Linked DNA regions of Homo sapiens: all the other regions are linked to region 1. The links are contacts of gene promoters, found by promoter capture Hi-C in human tissues and cell types (Jung and others, 2019). All regions are on one chromosome and are shown on one strand. Each heading gives the region's core, a stretch centred on a gene start or on the middle of the fragment in contact. The rest is flanking DNA. Distances are from core to core; before and after follow the strand shown. Region 1 holds the start of TUSC1 (tumor suppressor candidate 1). Region 2 has its middle 51 kb from the start of TUSC1. Region 3 has its middle 35 kb from the start of TUSC1.

Region 1 (3,024 bases), core at 389-2,888:
TTTAGATTATTTTAAAAGATCACTGTTACATGAAGCTAAAAGAACATGATAGTTTACTAAGGACAACTAAAACCAGATTTAAATTAGTATATTCATAAAGGTATCTTTTTAAAAATATAAAAATGTAACACACTTCAAATAATACTCGCCGCAACCTTTCAGATAATTTTTAATGCACCAGATTTATTTACCATTTCAAAAGATCACGATATAGGCAGATACCTTAAAAATTCTCTGGGGGCAAACAAATCAGTATATATTAGATGTACAGGGACTGCAGCCAAGACAGGCATGAGTTCCTAGGTTATAAATATCATCTTTATAAAAAGTGGGTATTTTATAGGACATCCAAGTAACACCGACTTATAAAAGCAAACACTGTACTTAAAATGTTGGCCACATATGAAAGAATAGCTGAAGGCTTTAGGGGATTGAAGAATGGATAAACTCAACCAACTAAAAACACATTACTCATCCCTCAGAACCAAAATACAGGAAAAAAAAAAATACAACAGGTTCGCACAACATCCAGAAAAGTTCAGGGAATATGAAGTGTTTCTTGGCACCCAGTTCTCGCTGTTTTAAAATCCGTCCCTTCGTTGTTGGCTAGGCCTCTCTCCAGGGAAACTAGCCGGGGCAAGAGGCAGGGGAACTGTACATGTGGGAGGTCCTGAGGGCCCTTGCACCCACTCGACCTCCACCAAGCGGATGGCCAAGCGCCACCCGGAAGTGTCCACTGGTGGGGGCGGGAAGGCACCGTAGTCCAAGGTATCCGCGGGCAGGGAGCGGGCCAGGGCGTGCGCGAGGTCGGGGGTAGCTGGGAACGGAGGAGGAGGGGCCCGCTCGAGGCTCCGCCTCTCACCGGCTGCGGCCTCGGCTACAGCCAGGGCCCAGAGGGCTCCGAGTCCCGGGAGCGGAGGCCGGAGTCGGGTTCCTGTAGAGGCTGCTCCTCCTTGTCCCCGCTCGGACGTGGTCCCCGCTGCTCGAGGTGCAGCTGCAGCAGGGCCCGGCGGTACATGGCTTCCAGCTTCTCAAGTCGGGCCCTCAGGGCCCTGGGGCTGCCCGGCTCGTCCTCTCGGCCGCTGTCTCTAGCCCTCCGGTTCGTGCTGGCCTCTTCAGGGACCCGGCGTGCCTCCGCGGGCGTCCCGTTGCCGCCTTCGCCGGGGAGCCGCAAAGCCTGACGGAAGAGGCTGCGGTTCTCGCGCTTCAGCCGCCGGTTCTCGAGCCGCAGCCGGGCGTTCTCCTGACGCAGCCGCGCGTTCTGCCGGTCCCACTCGTCCCGCGCACGGATGGCCTCCAAGTGGCTCGCCGCCAGGTCGGCAAACCGCTCCTCCAGCTGCTGTCGGGCGCCGTCCGCGCGGCCTCGCCAGCCCACGCCGCCGCCGCCGCCGCTGGGGCTGCCCCCACCACGAGCCCGGCCGGAGCGGCCTGGCCCTCGGCCGTCCGCAGCACCGTCCCCGCCGCAGCAACTCCCGCGCCTAGTGGCGCCACCACGCATGCGCCACATCGGTCCCATCCCAACCGCGCCGCCAGCCCCGTGGGCTGAGGGGCCGCGCGGCCAGGCGCGGGCAAGTTCGGGGCTGGCAGGGCGGCCGGGGTGACGACGGAGGAGGAGAGGAGGTCGCGGGCGGCGGCTGCTGGCTTAGAGCCAAAGGAGGCCGGGAATTTGCCCAGACTGAGGCGTGTCCTGTCTCCTGTGGTGGAGCTGCCCCCTGGGCCTGCTCTCTCCAGGCTGCGCTGACACACAGTTCCCCCGGGGAGTGCTTTGCTGTTCAGCCCTCCGGCTGCGCGGGAAAAAGCGTGTATCCTCAGCTGAGTTGTGCCAGGGCGCTTCCGTGCAGGCCTGGGCACTGCAGGAACTAGCCGTCCTCGCCCGCTCCGGAGTGCAACCACCAGTGGTTACTTTGCTCTTTACACGGCATTCTCAAAACTAATGATAATAGAATGATCGGTTCTGAGACAAAGCTATGGGGCAAGTTGAAAAGCTCTAAGTGCTTCATTTAAAACCCAGTGGTTTAACCCACCCCTATGTTTAATAAAACATTAAACAGAATTGGGCTGAGTACCTGTCATGGGGTTTCCCGGTGGAAACACCTGGCTCTCCAAAGAATGCAGTCAATTCCCAATTTGTGAACAGCCAGGAATTCACTCTGTAAATTGTTCAGAACGCTATAGAAACTAGGTCATACTTAGTTGATTTGTTCAGGCCAACCCCCAAAAGCTATGAAACAAGAAGTGCTCTGTTTATTGAAGAAACTGAATACTTAGTTCCAAAGTTTCTGGGATCAAGGATGTACATCTCATTGAATGAATCATTCCTTCTTGTAGGGTCTCAACCTACATAGTAACTGGATGATTGCAAAGTAATTTAAGGATTAGGTACTGACGCCAGAATCTCTTAAGCAAGTATGCCCTAGCAAGAATCTACATGTCTAACAGGGTCCCAGAGAATTCTCAGGATAACCAAAATTTCCAAACCACTGGAGCAAGTAACGAACAAGAAAAACATATAAGTACATACATGGGGTCTTCATTGACAAGTACAAATAAGGGGAAAATATTTGCTCAATTTTTTTGTACTTTTATTTTGTTAGGCAAGATCTTAAGAGACCACAACACCAAATGTGTTCTCAATTATCTCATTTTATCACATGAAAGATATAATTTTGGAATTTCAAAAAATATAAATTTAGTTTTAAGAAGGACCACATTCCAGGCCGGGCGTGGTGGCTCACGCCTGTAATCCTAGCACTTTGGGAGGCCGAGGCGGGAGGATCACAAGGTCAGGAGATCAAGACCATCCTGGCTAACACAATGAAACCCCGTCTCTACTAAAAATACAAAAATTAGCCGGGCGTGGTGGCACGGGCCTGTAGTCTCAGCTACTCGGGAGGCTGAGGCAGGAGAATCACTTGAACCCGGGAGGCAGAGTTTGCAGTGAGCTGAGATTGCGTCATTGCACTCCAGCCTGGGCGACAGAGCAAGGCTCCTTTTCAAAAAAAAAAAAAAAAAAAAAAAGGAGCA
Region 2 (3,024 bases), core at 283-2,782, 51 kb after region 1:
TCCTCTATATTCGCACTTCCATTGCCTCAGTGAGGTCCTTATTATTTTGGAAGTTGATATCTGCAATGGCTTTGACCTTTATCTACTTCCTCCCCTAAATCTATCTTCACACTGCTTTTGGAATGATTTTTTTTTTTTTAAACACAAACTTTTTCGAGCTTAAAGTCTACCAGTTGCTCCCACTTGCATTTAGGATAAGTTTAGACTTTCTCATCTGGTTGGACCAGGATTTTTCTCTACCCTGCCTGCCTTCCAGCTTCTTCTCCTGCTGTGGAGATAATGCCGCAAGGTAGGCATTAAGCACTACCACACATTTAAGAAAGGAAATAGAGGCCCAGAGTCTCTGGGAAACTTGCTTGAACTCATATAATTAGGAGGTTCTCCTATGGTCCTCCTGTGAGGGTACATGCATTATTTTTACCAGTCCTGTGAATCTACTGCTAAGTCTTCAAAGCATAGTGCTCTTTCACACTTACGTGATTTAAGCAAGGCCTTTCTCTTGCTGGAATATTCTTCCTCACATATCCACTTCACTGCATTCAAGACACAGCTCCAGAGTCATCCCTTCTCAAAAGCACTCCCTAGAGGCCGGGTGTGGTGGCTCACGCCTGTAATCCCAGCACACTGGGAGGCTGAGGCAGTTGGATCACTTGAGGCCAGGAATTTGAGACTAGCCTGGCCAACATGGTAAAACCCTGTCTCTACTAAAAATAACAACAAAAAAAAAAATAGCTGAGTGTGGTGCTGCGTGCCTGTAGTCCCAGCTACTGGGGAAACTGAGGCCAGAGAATCGTGTGAATCCAAGAGGTGGAGGTTGCTGTGAGCCAGATCGCACCACTGCCCTCCAGCCTGGGTGAGAGAGCAACGCTCCGTCTCAAAACAAACAAACAAACTCAGCATTCCCTAATATTTCAATGATGAGATAGGTGCTCCTGCTTCATGCTGCTTCTATTTCAATGACAGTTAAATATCCCTTGGTTTTAGCATTTTTTCCACTTTTATTGTGATCCTCCACTTATCCCCCCTCCTAACAGTAAGTCCTCAACCACTGTATGTATCTCACCTCTGTGCCTCTTGCAGTGTGCACAGTTTCTGGAATTTGATAAGGCATCAGTTCTGGATTTCTCTAATTATTAATTTTAATCCACTGAAAGGTAGAGATAAATCATTGCTTTCTCTTATTTGGAAAATGAGAACTTGGGCCTACATTATCACTATGTGATACTATGATTACAACTTCTTTGTATTTCTGTGAAGTTCTGTATCTGTACATATTCTTGGAATATGCAAACATTGCAGGCCCTGAAACGTAGTGCACTTGGCTTATGTTTAATTTCTTTAGTACACAAAAATACTGATTAATTTTACTATTGTGATGTATGTACCTGAGTTTATATGTGTTCACAACAGGCAAGACAGACAAAAGTACAAAGTATACAAAAAATAATTTGAATTTATTGGTGTGTACATTAGGCTGTCAATCTGAGGCTCAAGCAACTAGTAAGGTCAGTGAAGTAAATGAAACTGTAGGCCAGTTTGGTGGATAAAGAAAACAAAGACTGAACACTTTAAGTTAGTAATTTTGCTGAATTGATTAAATTATTTATTTGATCAATTTGATCAAGATCATCTATGTCTAGAAAGCTTATGGACTCATATATATTATTACATAGTCATTGAGAACATTAAAACAACAAAAATATTTATTTTAAAAAGAAGGACATATAGAACTAAATAATCATGCAGATTTCCATCTAGGCTGTCACATTCAGATACCTGGAATCTAAAAAGAGACAGAGACTTGAAAAAGAAATTTAGACTAAAATAAAAAATGATCTGACTCAAGTTCTCTTGCTATCGTAATGTGCAGCATATTTAAACATAAAGAAATTTCTCAAAATCAAATTTTGTAGGCATTCTGTTTACAGGTTTTGCCCAATCTGGGTAGTAGATTCTTGATTCTGATGGAAAACTGAGGTCCACTATTTCCAGGTATAAACATATAACAATAGAATATTAACTCAAAAGCATGTAAAGATGGAATTCATAATATGTAATGGGAACAATATAACATTTTCTTATCGATTTGCAGAGGCATATTACTGTATATGAACAGGATTTATGAAGACTTATATAGCTGCATAAATAGGTAAATAAAATGGGAATAAAAGTAAATTCAGAAAAGCAAGATAGAGGCAGTAATGTGTTGAACACACAAAACATAGAAAACAAGGCCCTGCATCCTTGCTCAAGGAAGACATAAAATTAATTCTAAGTTCTCTAGATGTGACAGAAGAAAATAAAATCAATAACGCCAGCCACAGCACCTATAGTGTAGAAACAAGCCAATTGTTTAAGAAAGACAATTATTCCAGTAAATGGTAAAATGCATTTACCTTATAGGTTTTCCTAGAGAGGATTCCATATTATATAATAACATAATTAACGACAGACTGATAGTAAATACAACGTTGACTGTTATGGAGCTATTTTTAATATGGTATTCAATATAGCTTAATAGTATTATGACACAGTTAAAATCAGTAAAATTACTTCAGTAGAGGGATCAACTTAATGTGCTCTCTACATGTGATATCTTTCTGTCCAGCTTCACAAAAAAAGAAGTTTTAAAGTGAAGACCTCAAAATAACATTTATGCAAAAGTTCAGGCAAGTAAGAGAAATTAGGGCAAGATAAGTAGAAATTAAATATCTGTGAGAGCCTATCTAAACTAAAGAGATTTAAATATAATTTGTAACAATAATAACCTGTGGAGACCCAAGAAAGCAGGCCTGGAAATGAAGACCAGGTTTGGCCATCAGTTGCAAATTCTGTTTTGGTGAACTAAGATGAGCGACTACTTTGTCTATATTCCAAAAATACTGCATAATTATTGTTTATCTTAGCCAATCTTCTGAAAGTTATTGAAAAATAATAATGTCAAGATTTTACTCCCTGGCAAATACCTAAAGTCTAGCTGTTCAGTGCTATTAGTAAAACAGAGTCTTATGCATTATCAAATAG
Region 3 (3,024 bases), core at 193-2,692, 35 kb before region 1:
ATTATTATAAGGAGTGTGCATCCTAGATACCTCACATGTGCAGTTCACAATAGGGTTCGTGCTCCTTTGAGAATCTAATGCCGCCACTGATCTGACAGGAGCTAGAGCTCAGGCAGTAATGCTGGCTGGCCTGCCACTCACTTCTTGTATGCGGCCAGGTTCCTAACAGGCCACAGATCTGTACCTATCAGTGGCCAGAGTTGGGGACCCCTGCCCTAGAGCCTTCAGAAAAAACATATTCCTGCCATTCCCTCTATTTTAGTCCATTGAGACCAATTTCATACTCGCAACATCAAGAACTGTAAGATAAATTTGTGTTATTTTAAGTGACCACGTCGGTGGTAATTTGTTACAGCAGGAAGAAGAAACGAATACAAACACATTTTGTAAATATATTACTAGTAGCAACTGGTTGGTTTATTGATAGCAACACTCCTAATACCTAACACAGTACCTGGCACATTGATGAAATAATTATATTTAACTGATTACCAGATTTAACTTTCATAGTAGAAAATTTAACCGCACAGACACAATATATTGAGTTCACACTTTAATTCCTATAAGTCACATGTATAGTATGAGGAGTTTGGAATAATAAAAAAAAGAAGACAAGATTTTGTCCTGAATTTTATAGTTTTTTTTTTTTTTCATAGAGACAGTAAAGTTTCACATGGAAACAAAACAAACAAATAATATTGCAATGACATATACCTATCTATAACAATGCTGAAGCAATGCTACTGAAATATCACCAAGGTAAGGAAACCCAGGACTAATTTTGTGGGAAAAACAGAACATTATTTCAGAAAATCTGTCAGAATTATGAAAGCTTAAATGAAATTTATAATCTTCATTTTTAACAGAAGTCAGCTAAACACTAATGGCAATTAATAATGCCTTCTAAAATGAACCTTTAAAATTGGTATAGTTATCTATATAATAGAAGTAATATTTTCATGACTGGTAATTATGAGGCAAAATTCTCCTTAGAAATATAAGTGGCTTCCTATTTCATAGTCAATCCTGCAATGAAAATGCATGGATTGATAAAAAATAAAATTTTTATTTATTAGTTTGTCAGTAATACATATATACACTATATATATATATAGCACTATTTTACTACCCTCAAATAATCTTAATGAAAAAAATAATGCAGTGGAGGAAAGAGTCAATAGTCAGGAATCATAAAGAAAAATGTTTCCTATCATTCTTTTTCACAACTAACAAAGCAAAATTAAAGTTAATATATTTAATTTGGGGGCAGGGAAGAGGAGTAAAATTATATTCCTAGCAAAAATAATAGTTGTGATAGAACAGAGATATAATTAGAAACACCAGAATGCATCTTAGCCATTCTGTTGGCCTCAGACACCTGAATAAAAATAAGACATTAGAAAAGATGAACATATAAACCTCTTACCCTACTATAAATTATAGAAAAAGTGTTGTTTGTTTTTGTGTTGTATTTAAACAAATCTTAGTCAAACAGTACCTGTGTTGAAATTGGGTAAGGAGCCAAGTTGTGTTTCCTATAGAGTCCTCCAATGTCTTATAGGTCCTATATCAAATTTGCTAAAATTCCCCAAGTAAATGAGAAAGCTTTGCCTTTGTCTATTCTAGGTTTCGTCAGTATCCACAAAATGCCATTATTTCTAAGAAAAAGGTCAAACTAACTGAAAAGAATCCAAATCCATTATGATGGGTTAAATCGATAAAATCGAAGGATTATTTATTTAACTCTGAAGTGCTGGCAAGTATAAACTAACTGAAATTAGGGGAGCAGTTTAAGTGGAGTATGAAGGGAGTGTGAGAAAGTAAAAGCAGATTTTAATATAAAATGATAAATTTCATTTAAGTAATAGACTACAAGCCAAGCTTACTCATGAGCATAGATGCAAATGTCAAGGTTTTAGAGAGCTAAATTCATTACATAGGAAATATAGTACACCATGATCAATCCAGGTCAATCCAGTAATACAAGGGCGGTTTAATATGTGTGGGTTTTTTAGCTTCTTGGCAAATTAAAGGAGAATACTGTATGATCATCTCAATCTTTATAGAAAATAAAATTCAATACATTCATTATGAAAGTTTTCACAAAGTGTAAACTAGCAAAAATGAAAAAGAGCTAGAAAAAGTGTTATCTTCCTAAAAACAGACCTTTTAAAAACAAAATATGGTAAAGATGTACATTATAATTGCTTCTATTTCACATGCTTTTGGAAGTCTTACCATGGTAAAGAAAGGGAAAAAATAAGATTATTAGAATTGTAAACAATATAAAAATTATTATTCACAGATGCTGTAATTACTACTTTGAAACATCAAAAGCATTACAGAAAAAAGTGTAGAAATAATAAGTTTAACAATATGCCTGAATACATGGCATCAATATACTACAATAAAATTAAATTCTGTGCACCAGTAGGAAACACAGAATATAGTAATCATCATTCATCATCATCATCATCATATCTATCATGTATCATTGCTATCAAATGTAAAGCACTTAAGAAATTTCTAAGAAAACATATGTAAATGCTATGTAAAAAATATAAAATTTTATTGAAATATATTTAAAATGTCTCAAAGGATAGATCACTCTCATGGACTATGAGATCTACAAATTTATATATAGATTCAATATATGAATCAAAGTTAAATATTTTTAGAAACTGACAAGTTAATTCTGTAATTTATACCTTAAAAAAGGCCCAAAAAGAGACTTACACAAAATATTTTATCTACATGAAAGTTAATCCATGGTGAAAAAATTAGAACATTGGCTGCCTCATGGAATGGTGCACAAATTGACATGGGGGGAGGCATTAGAGAACTTTCTGGAAGGATGGTGATGTTCTGTAAGTTGACAGCCATTTGAGTCGTGCAACAGGTGTATGCATATATTAAAACTCATGAAATGGTACACATATGGTTTGTGCATTCACTGCAAATTTTTACCTAGAAAAGCTTACTTAAATACATATTGAACTCAAATATTAATCTGAAGTATCTGGT

What was found. The method cuts DNA at HindIII sites, captures the fragments that hold promoters and counts their contacts. A contact is called where the count stands out against the background at its distance.
Region 2: a fragment that was not itself captured here is called in contact with the fragment with the promoter of TUSC1 in region 1 in 1 of the 25 tissues and cell types used here (H1 embryonic stem cells).
Region 3: a contact is called between a fragment that was not itself captured here and the fragment with the promoter of TUSC1 in region 1, in 1 of the 25 tissues and cell types used here (bladder).

Annotation. Positions count from the first base shown.
Region 1 is chr9:25,676,806-25,679,829 of GRCh38, forward strand. TUSC1 (tumor suppressor candidate 1) reads right to left here and starts at 1,639. Exons shown (of 1, transcript NM_001004125.3): 1 at 164-1,639. The coding sequence starts at 1,507. The coding sequence ends at 878. The HindIII fragment of the contact is 15,020 bases long and covers 1-3,024 here.
Region 2 is chr9:25,727,433-25,730,456 of GRCh38, forward strand. No RefSeq gene overlaps it. Among named protein-coding and RNA genes, the nearest start is that of TUSC1, 51 kb to the left of the region's middle. The HindIII fragment of the contact is 6,496 bases long and covers 1-3,024 here.
Region 3 is chr9:25,642,156-25,645,179 of GRCh38, forward strand. No RefSeq gene overlaps it. Among named protein-coding and RNA genes, the nearest start is that of TUSC1, 35 kb to the right of the region's middle. The HindIII fragment of the contact is 3,505 bases long and covers 1-3,024 here.